Regions from separate parts of the Homo sapiens genome. Here all the other regions are linked to region 1. Evidence: promoter capture Hi-C in 16 types of primary human blood cells and fetal thymus (Javierre and others, 2016). All regions are on one chromosome and are shown on one strand. Each heading gives the region's core, a stretch centred on a gene start or on the middle of the fragment in contact. The rest is flanking DNA. Distances are from core to core; before and after follow the strand shown. Region 1 holds the start of ING3 (inhibitor of growth family member 3). Region 2 has its middle 170 kb from the start of FAM3C. Region 3 has its middle 150 kb from the start of FAM3C. Region 4 holds the start of LOC105375478 (a long non-coding RNA gene).

Region 1 (3,100 bases), core at 364-2,863:
AAAATTATGAAAATTCTAAAATAAAACATATAAAAGAAAGATTAAGATAAATAAGAGAATAAAGAGAGAAAGTCTTAATGGAAAAAATGAGAAATAAGCAATACTGAAAAGACAAACGCTGAGAATTTTCTAGAATTGTTGCAGGGCACCAATCCTGAAATTCAGGAATCCCCTCAAATCCTAAGCATAATTTTAAAATTTTAAGGAAAGAAAAGGGAATAAGGAAGGAATTCAGACTTAGATCACTACAAAACTGCAAAAAGATGTCAAAGAGATGTTAAAAGCAGCCAGAAGAAGGAAGGATGGGAAACGAAGAAAGGAGGAAAAAAAGAAGGGAGAAAAAGATCGAAAGTACTTGATTTTCGATGGAAGTAATGAAAAACTTAACTAGAAACTATAAAATTCTAATTCTTATTAGGATCGAAGTAAGGTTCCGTTGAGATTCATCATGATTCATCATTCACGACAGGAAAGTTTCCTGCTTAAGAGCAGTGAAAACCTTGAGTACAAGAGTATGTAATGGAGAAGGAAAGCAAGAAACACACACACACAGTTTCAACTGCAATTTGAAAAACAGAAAATGAACAATAAATTATGAACTAATGACAATTTCCCCAGAAAATCGAAAAGTTAAGAAGAGTGGAAAATAACAATATCTAGCATTTATTGAGTGCAAGAGTTTTTAATAAAAAACAATTTAAAAAGAAACTGAGTAGGGACGTACTAAATATATCACAGGAAAACATTTGCTGGGAGAGGTCGAAAAGTAGAAACTAAAGAACGCCGAAGACAACCAACCTCGAATATGGACTATTTACTCAACATAAAGTTACTGCTATTAACAGCCTATTAGAAATCAAGGCTGCATCCGTAATTCATGGCTGCTCACTGTGATGATGAAGATTATTATTATTATTATTTGCGGATGCAGATTGTATGTATAGATCAATTACATTAGAATGACGATTAGATGGACCGCAAACTAGAATATATAAGTGGCTACTGACACTATTTGTGCATCTTTTAATCTGGGAAATGTATATTCACTCCATAGTCTCAGTATAAACTATTTTAAAATTACACGTAAGCCAACCAGGTGTCTCTTTTATATTTTAGAGTGAATAATGAGGATAAATTCCAGTAGAGAGTTCTATTTTAAGCAATCCAAATTCCCCGAACTTTGCTGATTATTCTAGTGTTTAGAACCTTTGCTATTTGCCTGGCACTTCTTGAAACCCATAACTCACAAACGCCGGGGCATGGAATCACATCAAAGAACAGGTGAAAAGTTGTTCCTAGTTGTGTTATGCAGGTGCATACAACTCCCGCCATTCTCTGTGCAAAAATCAACAAATAAACAGAGGCACCGCATTTCGGATTCTGTTACGCACTGTTTGCAATGGCGCCCGGTATTCGTAGTTTCTGCGAGGGGAGCCGCCAGCGCGCCAACCCTCGCTGAGGAGGAAGAAAACTACATTTCCCACAGAGGCACGGGGGCGAACACCGGCCGGGCTACGTCATTGCTTGAACCAACCAATAGCAGCTCCGGGCGGCAGTGAGGCAAGCGCCTCAGGCGCCAAAGTGGTTTTTTTTTTTTTCTTTTTTTTTTTTTGCCGGAGTCGAGCGGGTGCTGCTAGCGGAGGCGCCATATTGGAGGGGACAAAACTCCGGCGACAGCGAGTGACACAAATAAACCCCTGGACCCCCTTGTTCCCTCAGCTCTAAGGGCCGCGATGTTGTACCTAGAAGACTATCTGGAAAGTGAGTGCGCGGCGCTGGCGGCGGCCGCCAGTGGGACGTGCGGGCGGGCAAGAGCGCGAGTGGACGGGCAGCGAGATGGCGGGAGGGAGGGGGCGGCGGGGGATGTTTCTTTCTCACGGTAACTGGCAGCCTCGTTGTGGGCTGCCGGCCCCCTCGACCCCCCTGACGCACGCGCGCAGTGACGTAAGCGCGTATTTCGCCGTTGGCCCCGCCCCTCTGACGGACTCTCCCTTTGACAGTGATTGAGCAGCTTCCTATGGATCTGCGGGACCGCTTCACGGAAATGCGCGAGATGGACCTGCAGGTGCAGAGTAAGTCGGCGCGTCTACTACTCCTGTTCGCTGCGCGCGTTCAGTGCCAGACTTGCTTGTCATCACTGCTAGCGCCTAGTGCTCTTTCACTGTCCTCTGGCTCACTCCGCTAGTGCATAAGGAGTTGTCAAAAAGAACTGGCAGCCCTGAATCTCGCCTTCCCCTTCCCTCCCATGCTACTTTTTTCTGGCTTTTGCAAGAGCAGGAGGCATTGGGACACGTGTATTCCTTTCTAGAATGTGGGATTGTGCAAAAAATATTTCTCTACCGTCATTGACATAGTTATCTATGTTTCAATGGACGTCAGCATAATAAATGTTGAGATGTCGTCTTGAGCCTTTTCGTATCGAACTTAGATTTCAGCATTTATACTTATTTTAAAGTTCATCCTATTCACAGTTTTTCAAGAGTGGAAAGCACAGAAGCAGAGGTTATATATAGCTCTTTAGAGACCATGGCAAATGTCAAATTTTGAAAACTTAGTTACACATTAGATACATTTTAAATTGTAACAGAATCGTCATTTTCTTGGTTAAAATGAGTGACAGAAATTAGATTTCACTGTAAAGTTTCTTATGTGCTGTACTAAAAATTTTAGCAGTTAATGAACATTTCTTTTTCTTTCAGTGATAGCTTGGTAGTCTCTAGGACTTTTTCCCCAAATTAACTTTGCTCTTTCATAGAGCAACGACTATAAATAGGTGGCTCAGGGACCACCTGCTGCAGCTAAGAACCTGTCCTTTTCACTGCTCCTGGCTTCTCTGCCCATGACCACACACCCACTTCTATACCCTTTGCTTATGAGTATATTTTTCCGGTAAGTTTCAGGTGGCACATAATAAAAAGTGGTGGCATGGAAGCCACTTTCTGTTCAGTGGATTGTGATATGAAGTATGAATTGTGTGTGTGGTTCTCCAGCTATCTCACAAATTCATTTTAATTTTAGTGTAGTTGAAATGCTGAAGATTTGCTGAAGTAGTGTTCTCTGCAGGACTGAGCACAGACATTGATGTCAGATCTGAGTTTGT
Region 2 (3,100 bases), core at 418-2,917, 610 kb after region 1:
CAACTTGTCATTATATCTAAATAAACATCTGTATTGTATTAATCAAAACCTATGGTTGCTGAAATTTATCTATGTGTTTTTACATATACACAACTGAGTAACTGAAGTATAAACTTTTTTGTGACAAGTTAAAAAATAAGTTACTATGGTGGCACATGCTTTTTTCTTTGCTGCCTATTAACCTAATAAATTTCCTTTAGTATTTTATAGTGGTATTGAACTTTGAAAAGTGAGTCCTCTTTTTTTTGCGTTTTATTCAAAATCAGTTGGAAATGTTTAAATGAATTATTTAATGGAGTACCAACAATCTCTTGACATTTTTAATGTCAAAGTGTCAACAATCTTTGACATTTTTAGATAATTGCAATTATAGTCAAATCCTGCAAACAGAAAGACATGGAAATTTAGTCCTATAAAATAAAAGCAAGGGATAAACTGAACAAAATCAATGAAAAGGCCCCAGATGGTGTACAAATTTTGAAATTCTACTTCATTTTGGAGTAACTTGACTTATGGCAATTTTTTTGGATGCAGCTTCTATTTTTGATCAGCAGTATTCGATCTGCTGTTAATTCCATCCAAGTATATATTTTTTCACTCAGATATTACATTTTCATCTCTAGAAGTTTAATTCAGGTCTTTTTTTTTTTTACATCTTTATGCTCTTCTTTAATGTTCTCATGATTTCCTTTATTTTCTTGAACATATGGAATCTAGTTGTAATAACGGTCTTGATGACCTTGTCTACTAATTCTATATTTGTTTCATTTTTGGATCTGTTTCTATTGATTTAATTTTCCCCATATGGGTCACATTTCCCTTTCATGTCTGTCAGTTTTGTTTGGATGCCATGCAATGTGAATTTTAACGTGCTGGATGCTGGATACTTATACACTCCTGTTCATATTATTGAATCTTGTTCTGAGGCTCAGTTTGTTACTTGAAAACAGTACAATCCTTTTGAAGCCTGCTTTTAAAATTTGCTAGGCAAAGCCTGAGCAGCCTTTAGTCCAGGACTCATTTTTTGTCATATGAATTAAGAGAGGTTTACACTCTGACTACTGGGAAAACACTATTTCAGACTCTACATGAGCTATGAGGATTGTTGCGTTTCATTATTTCTGATATTTTTCTCTCCAGTTTTGGGTAGTTTTCTCACGTGCATGTATTGATTGGTACTTACCTGAAGACTTGAGGGGAACTCTTCCTACTTTTCTGGGCTCTCTCTTTGTAAAGCTCTCTCTGCTCCATACAGCTTTCTCTTCTCTGGTATTCTGCACTGCAAATTCTATTTTCTTGGCCTCTCCGAATTGGCAACTCTGTCTTTCCACTAAGCAAGTCTGCCAGCCTGTGGTTTGGGTCCCCCTTCCCTGGACACTTTTTTTGGGAGTAAGCTAGAACAATCCTAAGCTTACTTCATTTGCTCTATTCTCTCAGGGGATCCCTTTCCTGAGCTGCCTTTTGTCCAATGTATGAAATCTGCTTTGTATATTTTGTCCATTTTAAAATTGCTTAAAGTGAAAGATCAAATGTGTTTGCTATTAATTATCAAATCTAGAAGCAGAAGTCCCTGAAAATGATATGTGAATAGAATCATTACTTATGTCTACAAATAGCATCAAATGATAAATCAGTAAATAAGTATCTCAAATAGTATACAATTTTCATTATTTTTGTGTCTACTTTTATTCACAAAAGTGTCCTAGTTTGGGTGATAAATTATCTGGTAGCTCTAATTCTAGTATTTTAATGATATATGTTAACATTTAGTACTAAAATAATTCATAAAATTCTGGGTTAAGTTTTTTGTTTTAATTCAAATACAATTAAAACATGGCAACACCTTAATTCTCTTTGTATGTGTTGATTAGTGAGCCCAATGATTAAATTTTGAAACAGTACCGTATAATTGTTTCCTATTAAATAAAGCTTTCAAATGCATATGAGGAGTCTGTCAAAAGCCTGGCACTCTGCCAGAATTCAGAGCCACATGGAGTTTTTGAACCTCATGTGCAAGGAATTCAGTTAAATGTATACTACTCAGTTTATCTCATACTTCCAATATATGTCCTTACTTGGCTCTTTTTGTTTTACTTTTCCCCATCTCTTCATCCCCTGTCCCACTTCCCTTCTCCACATGTCTGATATATCATATACTTGTATGTTCTTGAAGTGCATGTTTGCTTTTTTATTTGCATCGATGGCTTTGTACCATAGACTGAATTCTATTTTTTGCATATTTTAACTCCATGTGTTTTAAGATCTATTTATGTTGGTATATGTATATCTCATTCATTGTTTCTAGTTGCTACATAGTATTCCATTGTGTGTATCTACCACATTTTATTATAAGATGCCCTGTAGATAGACGCCACTGTTGCCTCAAACTCTTGACTATGCAAGCAAAATGATGATTATCCTTGCTCACTACCCTTATGGACATACATGTGAGTTTCTCTGCAATATAAATGCAGGAATGATCTTTTTGGATCATAAATTCTCTGAGTACTATCAGGTTACTATTCATGAAATTGTTACCATTCCTGAAATTGTTGCCAGAGTATGTGACCCTTAGCAATGCAGTGGCTCCTCATTTATCCACATAGTTCTCAACATTTGGTGTTTTTGTAGTCTATGTTTTGCCAATCTGAGAAATACAAAATGGTATGTCATCATTTCAGTTTTCATTAATCTGATTACCAGTGGGTTTCAGTCTCTCTGGTTTTCCTTCTTTTTCTAAATGATCTACCTGAGTTTCTATTCATATAGAAATAAAATCTTTTGACTTGTTTAGGCTCTATATTTTCTACTAATCTTGTTCAACCTTAATTTTGATGTAATTGAGTATGCCACCTTTTCACGTTATTGTTTTGATTTTGGGCCTCCTGTTTCAGAAGCCCTTCTGTACTCGTAGGCTTATAAAGATAATCTCTTACATTTTCCTTAATTTCATTTCAGTCTTTACTTTCCCAGTTAGGTCTTTAACTCTTCTGATGTTGACTTTTGAATATCATGCCTTACTCTATTTGATATGGTGGGCTACTTTTTCCATGGAATCCTTATAATGACTTTCACACATTACTAAATTCAAAATATGTGT
Region 3 (3,100 bases), core at 205-2,704, 590 kb after region 1:
TACCTGTCTTACAGGGTTTAAAGGGCTTACAGGGCCTACACTGTTCCTTCTTAGCCTTAGAGCTGAGGAAGGAAGGCTACTTCCTGGTAATCCTAAGAATTTCAGAATATTTGAGGGACCTCAAGAAGAAAGGAATTAATCTAAATATATAGGTGAAATCTGATGATGAATTATTGGCTTGGCATACTAGCCTCAAGGGGCATTTAAAAGTTAAAATTGCCCGGGCATAGTGGCTCACGCCTGTAATCCTAGCACTTTGGGAGGTTGAGGTGGCCGGATCACTTGAGGTCAGGAGTTCGACACCAGCTAGACCAACATGGTGAAACCCTGTTTCTCCTGAAAATACAGAAATTAGCTAGGTGTGGTGGCACGTGCCTGTAGTTCCTGCTACTCTGGAGGTTGAGGCATGAGAATTGCTTGAACCCAGGAGGCAGAGGTTGCAGTGAGCTGAGATCATGTGACTGCACACCGGCCTGGGCAACAGAGCAAGACTCTGTCCCAAAAAACAAACAAACAAACAAAACCTAAATAACTACATAAATAAAAGTTGAAATTGAATCAAGAGTTCCTAATGATAACTTCCAGGAAAGCAAACTTAAAAAGATATATATGGTAAATTACCATTCTTACTGTACCTCTGTACATAATCAGGCTAAATCCAGTAAGAATGAAACCACATTATTTTATGATCAAGAATAATCACTTTTTTTCTCTTCTTTCCTTTTCCTCTTTTTTTTTTTTTTTTCTTTGAGATGGAGTCTCACTGTCACTCAGGCTGGAGTGCAGTGGCACGATCTCGGCTCACTGAAAGCTCAGCCTCCTGGGTTCATGACATTCTTCTGCCTCAGCCTCCTGAGTAGCTGGGACTACAGGCGCCCGCCACCACGCCTGACTAATTTTTTTGTATTTTTTTAGTAGAGACGGGGTTTCACCATGTTAGCCAGGATGGTCTTGATCCCCTGACCTCGTGATCCTCCCGCCTTGGCCTCCCAAAGTGCTGGGATTACAGGTGTGAGCCACTGCACCTGGCCCTGTTTTTTTTAAAGACTATCTTTGTTCAGGAAAACTTTGTTTCAGTGGAAAACTATAGCAGATCTTTTTGAGTTATCAGATTTGAAACAATAATTCAATCGTCTTTGAACTATTTGTGCCTCTTTATAAATTGTAGGTAACTGATGGATGTGCTAACTCTGTTTGGTTGAGATTTAATTGGCTTCCTTCCCCACTGTGCAATAACTGGTTTTGTAACCTACTTGTGATTAGACTGGATTTTGTTACCTTGAACAAATTGTCAATTTTTACCATGTTTTCAATTCTTCTCATTTTTTTTTTCAATATCTGGCTATAACCTTTCAAACTAACATTTCCAACTTTTCTCCCTCCCTCTTAACTTGGTCTCACTGAGAACAAAAGTCTGACTATCTAGAGATCCTTATCGAGACTCAAAGTTGCCTTGTAGCTGTTCTTTCACCTCCAGATCTGAAGAAGGACTGGGGGCTAAAACCTGATGACTTGATATATACCCTGAGGGACTTATCACCACAGAAGACCATAATGGACTGAATTTCTCCCTGAGCAAGTTACTGTCTAGGCCACTAAGAAAGCTCACTGAAATGCTCAGGTCATGCATAACCTTACATGAGAAGTAACCAAGACTGGACAACATCACCAAGAACATTAACTTCTTAACTTCAAGAAACTCCATAAGCAGTGCTACATAATCAAAAGGTTTTCATCCACTGACTCTGGAATCCACTGGACCAAACTTTCTCAGGGTTGAACTCTTGGGTCTTTACTTTAATCCAGCTTTATATATATATATTTTTTTTATTTTTCATATAGATGCCTGATCTCTAGGACTCTAAAACAACTGAGCTTTGCCTCTACCTTTCAATAGATGTGTTTATGGGAGGCCATTATTTTGGACTAGTTTCCTGTGTTAGGCCCTAGCAGACAAGACCAAATTATAATGGAGTTACTTGGGCTAAGTGCCACATAATCAAACTGAACTTTCCAACAGGTCAGTTTTCCAAAAAAAACCCCCAGCAGATTCTAGTACCTGAGTCAGCATAATAAGGATGCCTCCTCTGTTTGAACCCTATAAGGAAAGTAACGTTGAAAGGATGAGTCTGTTTTTTATTCTCTCTTTTTGTTTCCTTTGGCTCTTTTCATTCTATAAATCTAACCTCCTCCATTCAGTTCATTTGAACACTCACTCTATTTTATAGAATGAGGTGTTCCCTGATTCTAGAATTGAAAATAAAAGTCAATTATAAATTTAAACTAAATACATTGTAATTTTATTTTTTGATGGGTGATTTAATTAATTTTGAAGACATCATGTCATTAAGAGTCCTCGCAAGCATAGTTCTTTTACCCTGGTTCACCTCACTCAGGAGATTTATGGCCACCTTTGACTTGTGCAACAGTGAATGAAATTTATCTGTCTTGATCAAAAGGGAAAGAGGACTAACAATGTTGAACTTTTCCAGAGCCTCATGCTTTCAGAAAATAGTTGTGGTTAAGAAATCTCACCAACTTTTTGTTTTCAGAAATGCCTCACCGTTTTGTGTTCTGAAAAACAGCTTAAGGAAATGAATCACCCTTCTCCATGTGACTCACATAGCACTCACTGTCCATTCTTTCTTGTGACCCCCATCAGGCTTGTAAATGGCTTTCTTGTTTACCTGTGACAAGGCCAAACACACACTTTTCACCTTTGTTTGAACCTGCTGACAAAGCCAGGTATAAATTCCCCCTTCCCTTTGCCTCTACCCAATGTCCCATTATTCCTTTTTTTTTTTTTTTTTTGGAGATGGAGTCTCACTCTGTCATTCAGGCTGGAGTGCAGTGGCATAATCTCAGCTCACTGCAACCTCTGCCTCCCAGGTCCAAGCAATTCTCCTGCCTCAGCCTCCCTAGTAGCTGAGATTACAGGTGCACCCCACCACACCCAGCTAATTTTTGTAGTTTTAGTAGAGATGGGGTTTCACCATGTTGGCCAGGCTGGTCTTGAACTTCTGGACTCAAGTGACCTGCCCACCTCAGCCTCCCAAAGTGCTGGGATTACAAATTACAAACGTCTATTCTTTATCTCATG
Region 4 (3,100 bases), core at 292-2,791, 550 kb after region 1:
CCAAGGAGCATTCATTTGCATAATAGACTTAGGGTGGGGCCCCAGCCTTCCCCAGGCACTATGTAAACGTCATACCTGATTGAACCAATCTGTGAGCCCTGTGTAAATCAGACACCACCTCCTCAAACTGGACTATATAATCTGGTGCATTTGCCACTACCACCCAGTCCTTTCTACTCAGAGATCCCTTTCTCTATAGAGAGAGCTGTTTCTCTTTCTTTTCTCTTCTGCCTATTAAATCTCTGTTCCTAAACTACTCCTGTGTGTCTGTGTCCTAAATTTTTGTGACACACGATAATGAACCCTGGCGTATATACACCAGCAACATAGCCGCTTCAATAATGAACACTGTTCTCTCCAGGGAAAAAGAAAGAAATGAGTATTCAGGTATGTCGGGTCTTAGATCTAGGAAGTAAGACTTTCTTTCACCAACTTGGAAAGCAAAGCTGTATAATATAGATAACCTGGTGCAGGGACCCAAGGATTCTTGTTGGTGAATGTGAATGGAGAGAAGGTAAGAGTCCGACAAACTCAGTGCCTGATGTGAGCCTAGAAACCTGTGCTTACAAGCGGTGCTGATAAGGAGAAATCTTGATGAGAGAGCAGCAGTGGATGGTGGTGGGGGTGTCTGGCTGGAGTTAAGTAGAGCTAAGTGGCTATGAGTGCACCTTTGTAAACAAAATAAAATATGTTGCTTCTTCTCATGATAAAAAGTTGCCAGCTGTAGAGGCCTTTGAACCAGAGCAACTCCATCTTTAATAGGGGCTGGGTAAAAGAAGGCCAAGACCTACTGAGCTGCATTCCCAGATGGCTAGGCATTCTAAGTCACAGGATGAGATAGGAGGTCAGCACAAAACACAGATTATAAAGACCTTGCTGATAAAACAGGTTGCAGTAAAGAAGCTGGCCAAAACCCACCAAAACCAAGATGGCGACAAAAGTGACCTCTGGTCATCCTCACTGCTACACTCCCACCAGCACCATAACAGTTTACGAACGCCACAGCAATGTAAGGAATTTACCCTATATGGTCTAAAAAGGGGATGCATAAAAATTCCACCCCTGGCTTAGCATATAATCAAGAAACAACCATAAAAATGGGCAACATGCAGCCCTCCTATGAAATAGCCATTCTTTTATTCCATTACTTTCTTAACAAACTTGCTTTCATTTTATGGATTCACCTCAAATTCTTTCTTGCATGAGAACCCTCTCTTGAGACGTGGATCTGGACCCCTTTCTGGTAACACAGGTACTCAGGGCCCCACTTCTTTTCTCGGTTTCAGTGTGGATGTCCCACTTCATAGCCTCAAGCTATGGAGCCAATACTGATTGCTCTCCTGGGCAGTAGAAACACGGGGGTTGTAGTTCCACCTGGCTTCAAACCCCCAGGTCCGCTGGATGTTTATCTAAATGCGGTCCTTACAAACAAGGTTCTTTTAAATGGAAATCTAGCAGAACCTTCTCCTTTAGGCTAAAACTGTTCCACCAGGCAGTCTCCTGATGCCAGGATCTGATGACTCACTCTCTGCTTCCCGGTTCCTGTGTCCATAAATTCCTTGAATTAGCTAAAGAATGCAGTCCAGGCAAATTCTAGTTTCTTACTCAGACACTTGACTGAATATCTCCTTTACTCTCATTTCTTCTTTCTGCTTCTTTTATCATTTCCCTAAATTTATATTTTCTACTCCTACACTTTATAAGTTGCTTTTCTCTCTGTAAATACAAATTTCACACATTTTCAGAACCTACCAAGTATTATACATAGGCTTCTGGGGGTGCTACAGCCCATTCGACTCTCACAATTAAGACTGTGGTGCTGTTCAAACCAAACAATGTCAGGTTGTTAACATCACTTACATGGTTAACACACTTGATTAGGAGTCAGTGTCTTAATTGTGGAAACAATTCAAAATTTTCTTGTATATGACACAACCAGTGAGGTATTCTTTGGAATTTCCATGACCATGTTTCAGGAAGTACAAACTTTGCTGCTAGCATATTGGTCCACAAATCGCTATGTAAACAACAGATGCAACCAATCATGATCAGCAACCTTCACATCACCTCTTTAAAAGCCTGTCAGTGATTGGTCACTGCACATCTGTTACTCAGTTCACTCACAGAAAGCAAAACATGGAGTTGTGTTGCCTCCTGGTTTCCCAACAGTAGAGAGATGCTGTAAGCAAAGTAGTTTAACTTTTAAAGCACTACTACTGTTACCCTCATTCTCCTGGTGACTTCTGAATGTGGAAAATTTGCTTTTTAGCACCAACAGAACTGCATTATCCAGCCAATGGGCCAAGGGAGTTGTTTTAACTTTTAAAGGCTCATTTCTTATATGAACTTGAAGACAGGCTATGGATACTACAAGCTGGAAATCATGCAACTTCTTTAACTGAATTTTTGGAGAAATGTGACATAAAGCATGCAATTGAAAACATTTAAGCATTATGGCAGGAAGGTGTTAGAAACAAATGCTGGGTGCCGCAAGGAAGAACCAGCACTCAGACAAAAAGTTTTCTCAGCAAGGCAATTTACTTCTGCAGAAGGGTGCTGCCTGTGTCAGTCACGATCGCAAGAGCACACCAAACAAAGAAGAGAAGGAGTTTTTATCCCCAATGCAGTTCCTGTCCCTGTGGCCTTCTTTTATTGGCTAGGGTTGGACCGCACAATCTAAACTGATCCCAATTGGCTAAGACTTAAATTTTTCTAAATAGGGTAAACATGTGCTTTGTAAGAGGAGGAAAGGGTAGGAGTGGTCCGCCTGGTAGAGTACAAGGCATGTCTGGATATGTCTGGGCATGTCAGGGCACAACTAGAGCAGGAGGCTAGTTGTTTGCAGGCTGGAAACGAGAGTGCAAGGAGGTTGGGCTTTTGAACAAAGAACAAGAATGTTATACAATTAAACATTTTGAAGAGGAATTTATCATACCTAACAATTTCCCCCTTTGCTTTTTGACAATTCTTCCTCTTTAAAATTTTTTAGTATGATTTGGCTTTGTTGCTCTTCTTGATCATTTAGGAACAAGAGCTTATCTGAGAATGGAGGAGGAGGGATAGGGGAGGGTTTTGTGAGAGCTGTTTCTATAAGTCTTGA

Evidence for each region. Contacts are between HindIII fragments. The CHiCAGO score rates a contact against its expected background, and 5 or more counts as called.
Region 2: a contact is called between a fragment that was not itself captured here and the fragment with the promoter of ING3 in region 1, in 1 of 17 cell types (total B cells). The highest score is 5.8, in total B cells.
Region 3: a fragment that was not itself captured here is called in contact with the fragment with the promoter of ING3 in region 1 in 1 of 17 cell types (naive CD8 T cells); the score reaches 6.7 in naive CD8 T cells.
Region 4: a contact is called between a fragment that was not itself captured here and the fragment with the promoter of ING3 in region 1, in 1 of 17 cell types (naive CD8 T cells). The highest score is 5.1, in naive CD8 T cells.

What each region holds. Positions count from the first base shown.
Region 1 is chr7:120,949,164-120,952,263 of GRCh38, forward strand. ING3 (inhibitor of growth family member 3) reads left to right here and starts at 1,614. Exons shown (of 12, transcript NM_019071.3): 1 at 1,614-1,761; 2 at 2,001-2,072. The coding sequence starts at 1,734. RefSeq lists an enhancer at 2,157-2,236. The HindIII fragment of the contact is 9,487 bases long and covers 1-3,100 here.
Region 2 is chr7:121,559,934-121,563,033 of GRCh38, forward strand. No RefSeq gene overlaps it. Among named protein-coding and RNA genes, the nearest start is that of FAM3C, 170 kb to the left of the region's middle. The HindIII fragment of the contact is 519 bases long and covers 1,409-1,927 here.
Region 3 is chr7:121,542,378-121,545,477 of GRCh38, forward strand. No RefSeq gene overlaps it. Among named protein-coding and RNA genes, the nearest start is that of FAM3C, 150 kb to the left of the region's middle. RefSeq lists an enhancer at 1,926-3,100. The HindIII fragment of the contact is 7,032 bases long and covers 1-3,100 here.
Region 4 is chr7:121,503,204-121,506,303 of GRCh38, forward strand. All of the region lies in intron 1 of LOC124901737 (a long non-coding RNA gene), which reads right to left. LOC105375478 (a long non-coding RNA gene) reads right to left here and starts at 1,956. Exons shown (of 3, transcript XR_927917.2): 1 at 1,861-1,956. RefSeq lists an enhancer at 1,859-3,058. The HindIII fragment of the contact is 9,018 bases long and covers 1-3,100 here.